Regions from separate parts of the Homo sapiens genome. Here region 1 is linked to region 2. Evidence: promoter capture Hi-C in 16 types of primary human blood cells and fetal thymus (Javierre and others, 2016). All regions are on one chromosome and are shown on one strand. The core of a region is centred on a gene start or on the middle of the fragment in contact, and the rest is flanking DNA. Distances in the headings are between cores, read along the strand shown. Region 1 overlaps CPE (carboxypeptidase E). Region 2 holds the start of TRIM60 (tripartite motif containing 60).

Region 1 (5,998 bases), core at 2,952-5,451, 450 kb after region 2:
TGTTATCTGGGCTCAGTACATGAGCCTTGGCCTGAAAGCAGAGTCAATTAAAATATACCCAGCCATTTATTAAGTTTACCCTGACTTTAATAGCTAGAGTTGTGAAGAAAACTGAATAAATAGAGCTTCAACATAATTTAAGAACCAAAGACATCTAATTATAGAACATCATATTTGAGCTGTATTTATAATCTTTAAATGGAAAGTTTAAAGAAAGGCCACAATTGTTTCTAGTTTCTATTAAAGGCTCAATTTTAAAGGTACTCCAAAGTCTTCTCTGTGGATCAGTTAAATATATAATTATAGTACACAGGGGTCTCAGGATTTAGTCAGACTAAAAGATTCTGTTAATAGTCAAAGGGAAATTTAGTTTAATTTATCAAATTGTAGAATTTGCTTGCTTTTGAACATACTGGTAACATGCATATAAGCAATTGTGTATGATGTAAGAACTAGTAATAGGCTAAACCTGATAGCTTCACACAACTTTGTGTATTTAGGGCTGTATCTTTCAATTTGTTTCAAGAACAGTTTCTTTTAAAAGTTTTTTATTGCAAAATTCATATTTTATTACAAAAATTAAAACATGCAAATAAGGAGAAAGAAGAATCCATTACCCTACAATCTTCAGTGAACACCATTAACATTTTGATACGTACCTTTCAAAATTATTTTTTATGGCTGTATCAACCTGTAAATATATGGTGCATACTGTGCAAGCCATTCTGAACACTTTTAGGTGGATAACAAACACAGGAATACAGTCTGCCTTGGCATGGCTTTGCCTCCTAACTCCCACTAAAACCAACCCTCCCTCTCAGAGAGTATTTTCCTTACCCCCGACAGATGGGCCATGGGTACTTCCAACTTCTTTATTTTTACTACTCTTTTCTCTTTTCTTCTCCTACCCCAATTCGTCCCTGGACTTGGTGAAGTTCCACCTCCTTCCTGAAGTCCTCAATGATTCTCCAAACCATGGTGATTTTGCCTCTTCTGAACTTATTGAAATGTGAATATTTGTCAATATCTGCCATTGGGTTAAAGAAAATAGAGGGAATGAGAGATGTACAAAGAAGAGGAGGACTGAAAATAAATTCAATAGTAAAAGAAAAACTTTTGAATAGAATATTATAGAAGAGTGTGTTAAACTCATCTCATATAATATTCATGTCATGTTAGCAATTGGATATAAAAAACATAAATTCACTTAAAAAAGCATATGCATTATAGAGTATTTTGATTTCATCTCCCATATTAGTTATTTTTAGGTTGATTTAAATCAAAATATAATAAGAGTGTATTTCAGATCCCTGTGGAAAGAATGCATTATTGAATACATGGAATTGAGACAAATCCATCTCATAAATAACAGCATAGATCAAAATAAATTCTAGACACTACAATTTAAGTTTAAAAAGTATGAAACTAGAAAACTTTCGTAAGGATGTAATACTTAGAGGGGGATAGAACTTTCTAAATTTCTTGTATAGACACTAGCACATAGTGGTCACTTAATACTTATTGAACGAATGAATGAAATGGAAAAGCAAAGAGACCATAAAGAAAAGATCAATAGGTTTGATGTTATGTACTTAACATAAATATCTTAATGCTCTGTATTTTAATTACAAAATTTGAAAGGCACATGACACACTTAGAAAATATTTATAGTGTGTAGGTCAGAGCTAATTTTTTTTACTAAACAACTCTTGCAAGTCAAAAAGAAAAGCTATGCATTTCTCCCAGCACTTTGGGAGGCCGAGGCGGGCGGATCACGAGGTCAGGAGATCGAGACCATCCTGGCTAACACAGTGAAAACTCGTCTCTACTAAAAATACAAAAAAATTAGCCAGGTGTGGTGGCAGGCACCTGTAGTCCCAGCTACGCGGGAGGCGGAGGCAGGAGAATGGCGTGAACCCGGGAGGCGGAGCTTGCAGTGAACCAAGATCGCTCCACTGCACTCTAGCCTGGGTGACAGAGTGAGACTCCGCCTCAAAAAAAAAAAAAAAAAGCTATGCATTTCAATAGAAAAATTAGTTAAACCATATAAATATGTCACAGAAGAATAAATAGAAATAATCTCTAAATATAAAAAACTTCTAGTTTTATTAGTTAATTAAAATAATGCAAACTTTAAAAATTCTATTGTCATTAATCAAAGTGACACACTTTAAAACACATAATAATTCCATTGTTCTTAAAAAGATTAGAGATGGAAGGTTTATTATACTGTTGCTGGTTATATTTCTGTACCTTACAGGAATGCAGTTTGGAATACATTTTTAAATGTAAACAGTTTTAGCTAATATAGATTTTAACTTAAAACATTTTTAGCTAAAAACGTGCTTAGCTTTTGGTCAAGTCATTCAATTTCTAGGGATTTCTCTAAGGAAAGTACAGATTTGGACAAATGGTAGCTACAAAGGTGTTCATAGTATTTTTAATTTTTAAAATATAAACATCCCAGTATCACCTCTTGGAGATTACTAGTACTAGTGTAGTGGCTGTGTAGCCGGCCTGGCTGGGCTTGAGACCAGCCTCTGCCAGTACCAGCTGAGTGGCCTCATGCTGTTCCCTAACTTCTCTACATCTCAGTTTACTCATCTGTAGGGTGGGGGAAAATGTAGTCCCTATTTCATAGAGTAAATGGGAGAATTGAATGTCTGACACAGAAAGTGTTTAATAAGTATTAGCTATCATTTTATTAGTATTTAAGAATGGTATATCCAGACATTGGCTGCCACTCAGCCATTAAAATATCATTTTAGAAGGGTATTTAATAACATGAAAAGGTGTTCATTATCTGTTTTCAAGCAAAAAAAGCAGTATATAAAATGGCATATAAATGATCACATTTAAAAATTATATAAATACATTGGGAAAAGACTGAAAAAGAGATATATACAAATGTTAGTAGTGGATATCTTTAGGTGGTAAAATTATGGGTAATTTTAATTTTCTTCTTTGTTCTTGTCTGTCTCTACATTTTCTACAATGGATATATATATATATATATATATTTTTTTTTTTTTTTTTAGCAAAAATAAGATCTACCAACCAAATGAAAAATAATAAAAACAACCTCCTACTCTAAATCACACTTTTCCACAGTTAACAGTAGCTTATGTGAAAATAGGATAATTTTAATAGACTAAAGCTGATACACTAGAAACAGCGTGAGCCTTAGGGTTTCACTGACTGGATGTGAACTCTTAGCTGTGTGAACTTAGATATGCTATTTAACACACCCAACTTTCAGATTCCTCCTTGTGAAATGGGTATGAATATCTTTGCATATCCAATACGAATGTTGAAGTGCAGTAAAATAGTTCATGTCAGAACTATTCATAAACAGAGCAGAGCTATACAAATATGAGATCTTATAACCATCAAACCCTACTGATGCCATTAGATTTTCTGTCCTAAAGAACAGCATGGATCACGTTGCCAGTAAAATCTTTTCTTTTCATCAGAGAAGCACTTGGGGTTTGAGAGTCTTCCTAGTTGCTATTAAAAACTCATTGCATAAAAGTATCAAGCTTTTGGCTCCACATTATTTCTTTGGTATACATTTCTTTTTTCCTTTGTTTTGCTTCCAAGATATGAGGGGCAGTGAATCATTCTAAAGACTTAACATGAATTCTTGAAACTTGCCTTTATTTTAAAATTTAAGATGACCATTCCAAAGTAAACATATTTTACAGTCCACTCTGAAAGAGACTCAACCTAATATTCTTTGATAGGAACAATGTTTGAAGTAATTGAGGGAAGTTGGGAAAATAGTAAGCAAAATTTGGAAATAAACTTTACCACATGTTTGAACCACCACAGAGGACAAATCTTGTTCTGCAGTTCAATTATTTTCTTTTCTCCTCATATTATCCTTAACTATTCATAATAACAATGTGTGAACCACTACAGATCAGACAGCGATGTCCCAAAATTTGTGAGTTGCATGCTGGTTTTCAAGTTACAAAGAGAGGATAACTGGCAGCCCACAAAAATAAAACTTTGAAAGAAATTTAAACACTTTTGAAACATTTTTTATTAAAAATCTGAGAAAGTTAGACATGAGGAATACTGCTTTTGTAGGAACCTTTATTTTTTCTGTGAGGACAACAGCAAAATAGTTGAAATATGACCAGCTTTCAGTTTTTTCCTTTACCTTTCCTATGTCTTTTCTGTCAAGTGATCATACCAATGATTATTAAATTTATAATCCTTTTAATCTCTCATCTGAACAGCTTGCTCCTGAGACCAAGGCTGTCATTCATTGGATTATGGATATTCCTTTTGTGCTTTCTGCCAATCTCCATGGAGGAGACCTTGTGGCCAATTATCCATATGATGAGACGCGGAGTGGTAGGTATTCTTTCTGCTTCTCTTATTGGTTCAAAGTTTATAACACTGTACAAGGTTTTATAAGATGATTTCTGTAATTTTTTTTAAGGAACTGAACATTAAGTGATTTTTGCCTGAAGAAAGAACTATGTTTAACAGGAAGCTCTCCTAATCATTTCATATGGTGTTGGCATATCTATTTGGCAGAAAAGGACTCACTTTTTCAATAGGTTAGGTGAAGAGAAACGTGATCTTGACAGTACCTAGCCAACAGAAAGGGAGAAAACACACGTCATAAACTTGGGTCACTCTTGGACACTGATAAAGTGGAGAGATTACAGAAGTTGTGTAGGTTCATGTAGAAGATGGCTTAAACATGGGGGCAGCCTCTTGGTGCTTGATCAGGATCCCTGTGGATCTCTACATGTGTCTTATTGTGTTGACACAGTTTTGCATTTGGAACTGTTTCTGGTGGTGTCAGGGAGGGGAAGTGGTGCTTTGGCTTTCTCTAACTAGTTTTAGTTAAGCTTCAGACAAAGCAAGCTTTAGCCAGACAGATATTTTCAAATTGTTTTTTGTTGCTCCAGGGAATTTCCTGCTTTGGATCTATTTTCTGGGGCCTTTGAAGAGTTAGCTTTTTGTAAAAACAGGATGATTAGTTTGTTTTTTTTTTTTTAATTTTAGATTCGGGGTACCTGTGTAGGTTTGTTACACGGATATATTACATAATGGTGAGGTTTGGGTTTCTAGGGTACCCATCACCAAAAGAGTGAACTCAATAGGTAATTTTTCACCCCTCACCTCCTCCCATCCTCCCCGCTTTTGGAGTCCCCAGGGTCTATTATTTCCATCTTAATGTCCAGGTACACCCATTGTTTAGCTTCCACTTATAAATGAGAGTATGTGGTATTTGATTTCTGAATTATTTCGCTCCAGATAATGGCTCCTAGCTCCATCCATGTCGTTGCAAAATACATGATTTCATTCTTTTTAATGGCTGCTTAGTATTGCATAGTGTATATGTACCACATTTTCTTTATCTAATCAACCATTGATGGACAATTAGGTTGATTCCATGACTCTGCTTTTGTGAATAGTGCTGCCATAAACATATGAGTGCACATGTCTTCTTTATATAATAATTTCTTTTCCTTTGGATGCATACTCAGTAGTGGGATTACTAGGTTGAATGGTAGTTCTATTTTTAGTTCTTTGAGAAATCTCTGTACTGTTCCTCATAGAAGTTATATTAATTTACATTTCCACCAACACTGGTGGGAATCCACGACAACATCTGTTGTTTTTTGACTTTTTAATCATAGCCATTCTAAGTCATGTAATATGATATTGTGGTTTTAATTTGCCTTTCTCAGATGATTAGTGATGTTGAGGATTTTTCCAATTATTTTGACTGCTTGTATGTCTTCTTTTGAGAAAAGTCTGTTCTTGTCCTTTGCCCACTTTTTAATGGGGTTGTTGGGATGATAATTTTAGATATTGGAAACTGAGTGTTGAAGAACGTCTTTGGGGAAATAACATTGTTAAATAAATTTGAAGACTTTGTGGTTTGTTGATAATTGGGAAACTTGTAGGCCTGCATAATTTATAATGCATGAATAAGAACACAGTGTATCAAAATATGTTATTTATTTCTATA
Region 2 (5,860 bases), core at 2,725-5,224:
AGCAGGCGAATCACCTGAGGTTGGGAGTTTGAGACCAGTGTGGCCAACATAGTGAAACCCTGTCTCTACTAAAAATACAAAAAAAAAAAGACAAGCCACTTAAAACTTATATTTAGGAACTTTCTATTTAATATTTTCAGACCATGGTTGACCTCATGTAACTGAAATCATGGAAAGTGAAATGGATGAAATGGCAGATGGGGAGTATCTTTAGAGGTATCTAAAGACACTGCCTCCTCAAGATTACTCTTGCCTCCTTCCCTGCAGGCTCTGAAGAAGCTTCAAGAGCCACTGACCCCAACCAATTATTGATCATCCTGTCACCCTCTCCTCCTGTATTCAGCAGTCCGCCCCAGTTGAAGGTTGACTGTGGAGTACTTTAGGTAAGAAAAGAGCTCCAAGAGCAAGGTACTTTATTGTTTCTGTGGACAAGACGATAGTCCCAGTTTAAAAGGATGTTCAATCAAGCAGATTTTTTTCCTTCCTGACGTGAACAGTACTTCAGGTTTTTCAAAAGATAAGAAAAGTTACTACTAAAGCTATATTTCACTAATAATGAAAATGATTTAGAAGACAAAACCATCACAACTTTGCAACCCCAAATTTATTAATAGATTTAGGCAAATCACCGTGTTAACTAACATCATAAAAAGTGAGTAAAACAGACATTATAGTCCTCCTGAAGAAAGAACACAACACTGAGAAATAGTTTCACCAAAAAAAACTGAACTCAAATGTAAAGAAGCCTCTCTGTCAAATAACCTATTAGAAGATATGCAGGGACAGAGAAAACTACTAAGGACCATCTCAGCAGTCAATTAGTAAAAGCCAGGCCGGGTGCAGTGGCTCATGCCTGTAATCCCAGCACTTTGGGAGGCCAAGGCGGGCGGATCACCTGAGGTCGGGAGTTCGAGACCAGCCTGACCAACATGGAGAAACCCCTTCTCTACTAAAACAAACAAACAAACAAAAAATATTAGCCAGGCGTGCTGGTGCATACCTGTAATCCCAGCTACTCAGGAGGCTGAGGCAGAAGAATTGCTTGAACCCAGAAGGTGGAGTTTGCAGTGAGCCGATTGCACTCCAGCCTGGGCAACAAGAATGAAACTCTGTCTCAAAAAAAAAAAAAAAAAGAGATCAATTAGTAAAATCCAAACTCTTGGCAACTACAGGAATATCCACCATGTTTCTTCAACCAAGAAAAGCAAGAAAATAAAAACGTGCAGGAGAAACTTGGGGATCTATGTAGATTTAAAAGTCAAACTAATCAAATACAAAATAGTCACCTAACTAGGTTCTAATTTCAAGCACATATTTTTATCAAATATTATAATTCAATTTGGAAAGGTAGATGTCTGATGATTATACAAAAATGATTGCTAATAGTGCCTCTCAATGTCTTTTAATTTAATGTAAGGATAAATACGAATATAGATTTTTTAATAGGAGTTTTATGTGGCACAAATTCAAGATATTCCAAAGATTTTTTTTGTTTCTCATGTTTCTGCTGACTGTAATGATAGATATTCTGTTTACAGAGAGCACCTTTGACAAAATTAGAGGGACCACAAGTAAATTGGCGTGAAGCTCCTTCCAAGAAGTATAATTCTTCAATTCCCATATGATAAAAGAACTTCCTCATTGAAGATTTAAGAGTTAAAAAGTGAACTGCACATGTTTATGTGTACATACATATGTTAACATAATACCATAAGAAAAATTTTAATTTTCATTAAATAAAATACGTAATTTTTATAGGTAATATATACATATCATGTAAAATATTTACATATAATATATACATATCATGCTACTATAATACAATAAAAATATTTATAATTATATGAAATTTTAAATATATATTAAAATATATGTGTTTCTAAAGTACATAAGTATTGCTAAAAATTAAAATACATGAGTCAGCAAGGTTCTTTCCCATGTGGCTACCCCCAGCTTAGGTCCTGCTGAAGGCTCCATGCCTTTTACTGAGTCTCCCTCACCTGTACCCCTAAGGTGATTCTCACTGAGATATTCTGTTCCCAGCAGAGGCTCAGAGATGCCCTGTGTGCACTAGTCAGGGGTACACAGAGGACCATGAGCTCCTTATGTCCTTGCAGAACAGATTCGTGGTCCTCCATCCAGAGCAGGAGCACAATACAATCCATCTTTTCTGTTTCTGTTTTGAGTCAGTCTCGCTCTGTCACTCAGGCTGGTCTTGAACTCCGGGCCTCAAGCAATCCTCTCCATTTGGTCTTCCAAAGTGCTGGGATTACAGGCGTGAGCCACCCGCCCAGCCTTTGGTTTAATTTTATGGTGGAATCTGGCCCCATTCAGCCTTAAGCCTTTAGAGTTTCCTTTCCTTCATCCCATTGGTCAGACTCCAGATCAGTGTCCTCCCAACCACAGCCTTTATCATCCTCTCTGTTTGCATCTTCTGCACTAAGGTGTGAAGATTTGAAGATTTCACTTATTGTTCCCTGTTCCTACTTCCCACTCTTCCATCAAATCTCAGACTTCATCACAAGAGGGTATTTTTCTGGGAAGGTAGCTCTAAGTTATTTTATTTATTTATTTTTTATTTTTATTTTGAGACTGAGTCTCACTCTATTGCCCAGGCTGGAGTGCAGTGACCCGATCTTGGCTCACTGCAACCTCCGCCTCCCGGGTCCAAGCTCTTCTCCTGCCTCAGCCTCCCGAGTAGCTGGGATTACAGGCATGCACCACCATGCCCGGCTAATTTTTTGTATTTTTAGAGAGACGGGGTTTTGCCACTTTAGCCAGGTTGGTCTCGAACTCCCGACCTCAGCTGATCCGCCCGCCTTGGCCTCCCAAAGTGCTGGGATTGCATGTGTGAACCACCGCGCCTGGCCAAGTAGCCCTACATTTTAAACAGAAAAGTGCGCCGGCCAGGCGCGATGGCTCACGCCTGTAATCCCAGCACTTTGGGAGGCCGAGACGGGTGGATCACGAGGTCAGGAGATCGAGACCATCCTGGCTAACAGAGTGAAACCCCGTCTCTACTAAAAAATAGAAAAAATTAGCTGGGCGTGGTGTCGGGCGCCTGTAGTCCTAGCCACTCGGGGGGCTGAGGCAGGAGAACAGCGTGAACCCGGGAGGCAGAGCTTGCAGTGAGCCGAGATCGTGCCACTGCACTCCAGCCTGGGCAACACAGCGAGACTCCGTCTCAAAAATAAATAAATAAATAAAAAAGTGCTATGCCGATTCTATGACTTCTTCTGCAAATATTAGCCTCTTTCACTGTCTCATTTACCAAGTTATAAGACTTAAGAGGCTCCTCACAAGGACTAATCCTTCAGCCTTGAAGATTTTACCGTCAAGTTTGTCCAACAAACTCATACTCGTCCCTTAAAATCTACTTTAAATATCAATTCCTCAGACGAGACCTTGGTGAGTCTTAGTTGGTAGGGTGGGGCCTAATCTCCAGGGTGGTAACTACGCAGCCTCTCAACCAGAGACGCAAACTGATCCAAAGAGCTGATTATTCCTCTTGCATTTTAAAACTAACCACCCTGGCCGGGCGCGGTGGCTCACAGCGAGGCAGGCGGATCGCTTGAGCCCATGAGTTCGAGACCAGCCCGGGGAACGTGGCGAAACCCAGTCTCCACCAAAAAATACAACAATCAGCTGGGCGTGGTGGCGCGCGCCTGTGAAGTGGGAGGATCGTTTGAGCCCGGATGGTCGAGACTACAGTGAGCCGAGACCGCACCAGACCCTGTCTCAAAAAAAAAGAAAAAAAAAAAGTTGCTCATAGGAATGAAAAATCTGAAAAGATTGCCATTGTGATTTAAATGACCCACTGAAGCCATCAGGGACCCCACCACGGAGGGAACCGCCCTAGGCTCTCCTCAGAATCTTCTCACGCTCCCTGCACCCTGCGGCATTGAGCATGCTCAGGCCTTTCCCGCCCACTTCCGGTGGAGCAGCCAACCACCGCGCTGGTCAATTGTATGCCTAAAACTCGAAAACCAAGGCGCCCAGGGTTGTGTGAGGGTTTCCGCTCTGCGCCCCGCGGGGTTCCATGGGTCCTGCACAGCATCAGGCCTGAGCCGCCGGTCCAACTGCTCCAGGTAAGCTGGGAGGGCCGCAGGAAAGGCGCAGTAGGGCCTGGCGGGAGGCTTACTTAACTGGGCAGGGGCTTCCTGAGTATCAGCTGTGCCCAAACCTCGGGGTCGCGACCTGTCCACGACTGAGCTCAGACTGTGGATCCTTTTTTTTGTTTCTGAGACGGAGTCTCGCTCTGTCACCCACGCTGGAGTGCAGTGGCGCAATCTCGCCTCACTGCAACCTCCGCCTCCCGGATTCAAGCGATTCTCCTGTCTCAGCCTCCTGAGTAGCTGGGATTACAGGCGCTCGCCACCACACCCAGCTAATTTTTGTATTTTTAGTAGAGACGAGGTTTCTCCATGTTGGCCAGGCTGGTGTCGAACTTCCGACCTCAGGTGGTCCGCCCGCCTCGGCCTTCCAAAGTGCTGGGGTTACAGGCGTGAGCCACCGTGCTCGGCCGGATTCTGTTTTCGCCGCGGAGGCAGTGGGACCCCGATGATTGAACTTTAAAGAAGATTCTGATCTGAACACCAGTTTGGGAAGTGGCCACGTGATCTCCAAAAATTATGGTGGGAGCGTTAAGGAAGGACCTCCCACCCTACAGCGCCAGCACTTCTCTGGCGGATTTTGTCTCCTTCCGTCCTCACAAGGATCTGGCTGTCAGGAAACTGCTACGGATGAGAAAGTTTAGGCTCACTTACGTTTCGTATCATCTAAAGTAATAGAGGTTGAATCTTGAGATCTGGGAATCTCCCACAGGTTTGATTTATATTCACTGAGCCCACACTATGAACCAGCACAAGAATCAGAGTAGGAGCCAGGCGCGGTGGCTCACACCTGTAACCCCATGAGGAGGCCGATGCGGGAGGATCGCTTGAACCCAGGAGTTCTAGCTCACGCTCGTGCCTGGGCAACATAGTGAGACCCCTGTCTCTACAAAAAAAAAAAAAAAAATCCGGGCATGGTGGGGCGTGCCTGTGGTCCCAGCTACTCGGGAGGCTGAGGTGCGAGGATCGCTTGAGCCTGGAGGCAGAGGTTGCAGTGAATGGAGATCGCGCCACTGCACTCCAGCCTTGGCGACAGAGTGAGATCCTGTCTCAAAAAGTAAAATAAATAAGGTAATAGAGGTTGAATTTTTCTTTTTTAATGTGACAAGATCTCAAGCAGTAGAGGTTGAATTTTGAGAGTAGGGAATCTACTGCAGGTTTGATTTATTAGCCTAATAATTATTGAACACACGTTGTACACCAGCATAAGAATCAGAGTTGGTAATTCAGTTGTGAGGAAAATAAGGAAGAATTCAGACCGTGAACTGTACTCTCCAGTGTCCTTAACCAAAGGTTGACAAAAATAAATGTAAAAATCTCAACTGTAATCTGCAGTATGATAGATATGTGGAGTCAGGAAAAGAGTAAAGTCCAGATGTTGGTGAGTCTTGTAATACTTAAGAGTAAGAAAAGCCATTCCATTGGAAATCGGAAGGTTATAGGATTAGATCTGTGTTTGGAAACTATAGAGTTATGGAATTGATTGACGGGATAGAGCATGTCAAAAATAAAGCCAGACACTGGGTAGTCATAAGGACAGATTTTAATCAGTACTGTACTATTGCAATAGGGAGAATTCAGCATGAACAGAACTCAACTGTGATTTGTACAGAGGTGACCAAGTGCTTCAAAGGGGAACTGGGGAATGAAGGTAGTGAGTTGGCGCTCAGTAGAGTCAGGGAAGTGAAAAATTACAAAAAGTGGGAAAGGGGTGGTTGGGTCATGTGAAACACACCCAGGTTTGCTCA

The links. The method cuts DNA at HindIII sites, captures the fragments that hold promoters and counts their contacts. A CHiCAGO score of 5 or more calls a contact.
Region 1: a fragment that was not itself captured here is called in contact with the fragment with the promoter of TRIM60 in region 2 in 2 of 17 cell types (total CD8 T cells and monocytes); the score reaches 5.5 in total CD8 T cells.

The regions. Positions count from the first base shown.
Region 1 is chr4:165,477,998-165,483,995 of GRCh38, forward strand. CPE (carboxypeptidase E) reads left to right here. Exons shown (of 9, transcript NM_001873.4): 4 at 4,245-4,362. Among named protein-coding and RNA genes, the nearest start is that of MIR578, 95 kb to the left of the region's middle. The HindIII fragment of the contact is 1,329 bases long and covers 3,538-4,866 here.
Region 2 is chr4:165,028,025-165,033,884 of GRCh38, forward strand. TRIM60 (tripartite motif containing 60) reads left to right here and starts at 3,975. Exons shown (of 3, transcript NM_152620.3): 1 at 3,975-4,088. RefSeq lists an enhancer at 3,477-4,133. The HindIII fragment of the contact is 7,154 bases long and covers 278-5,860 here.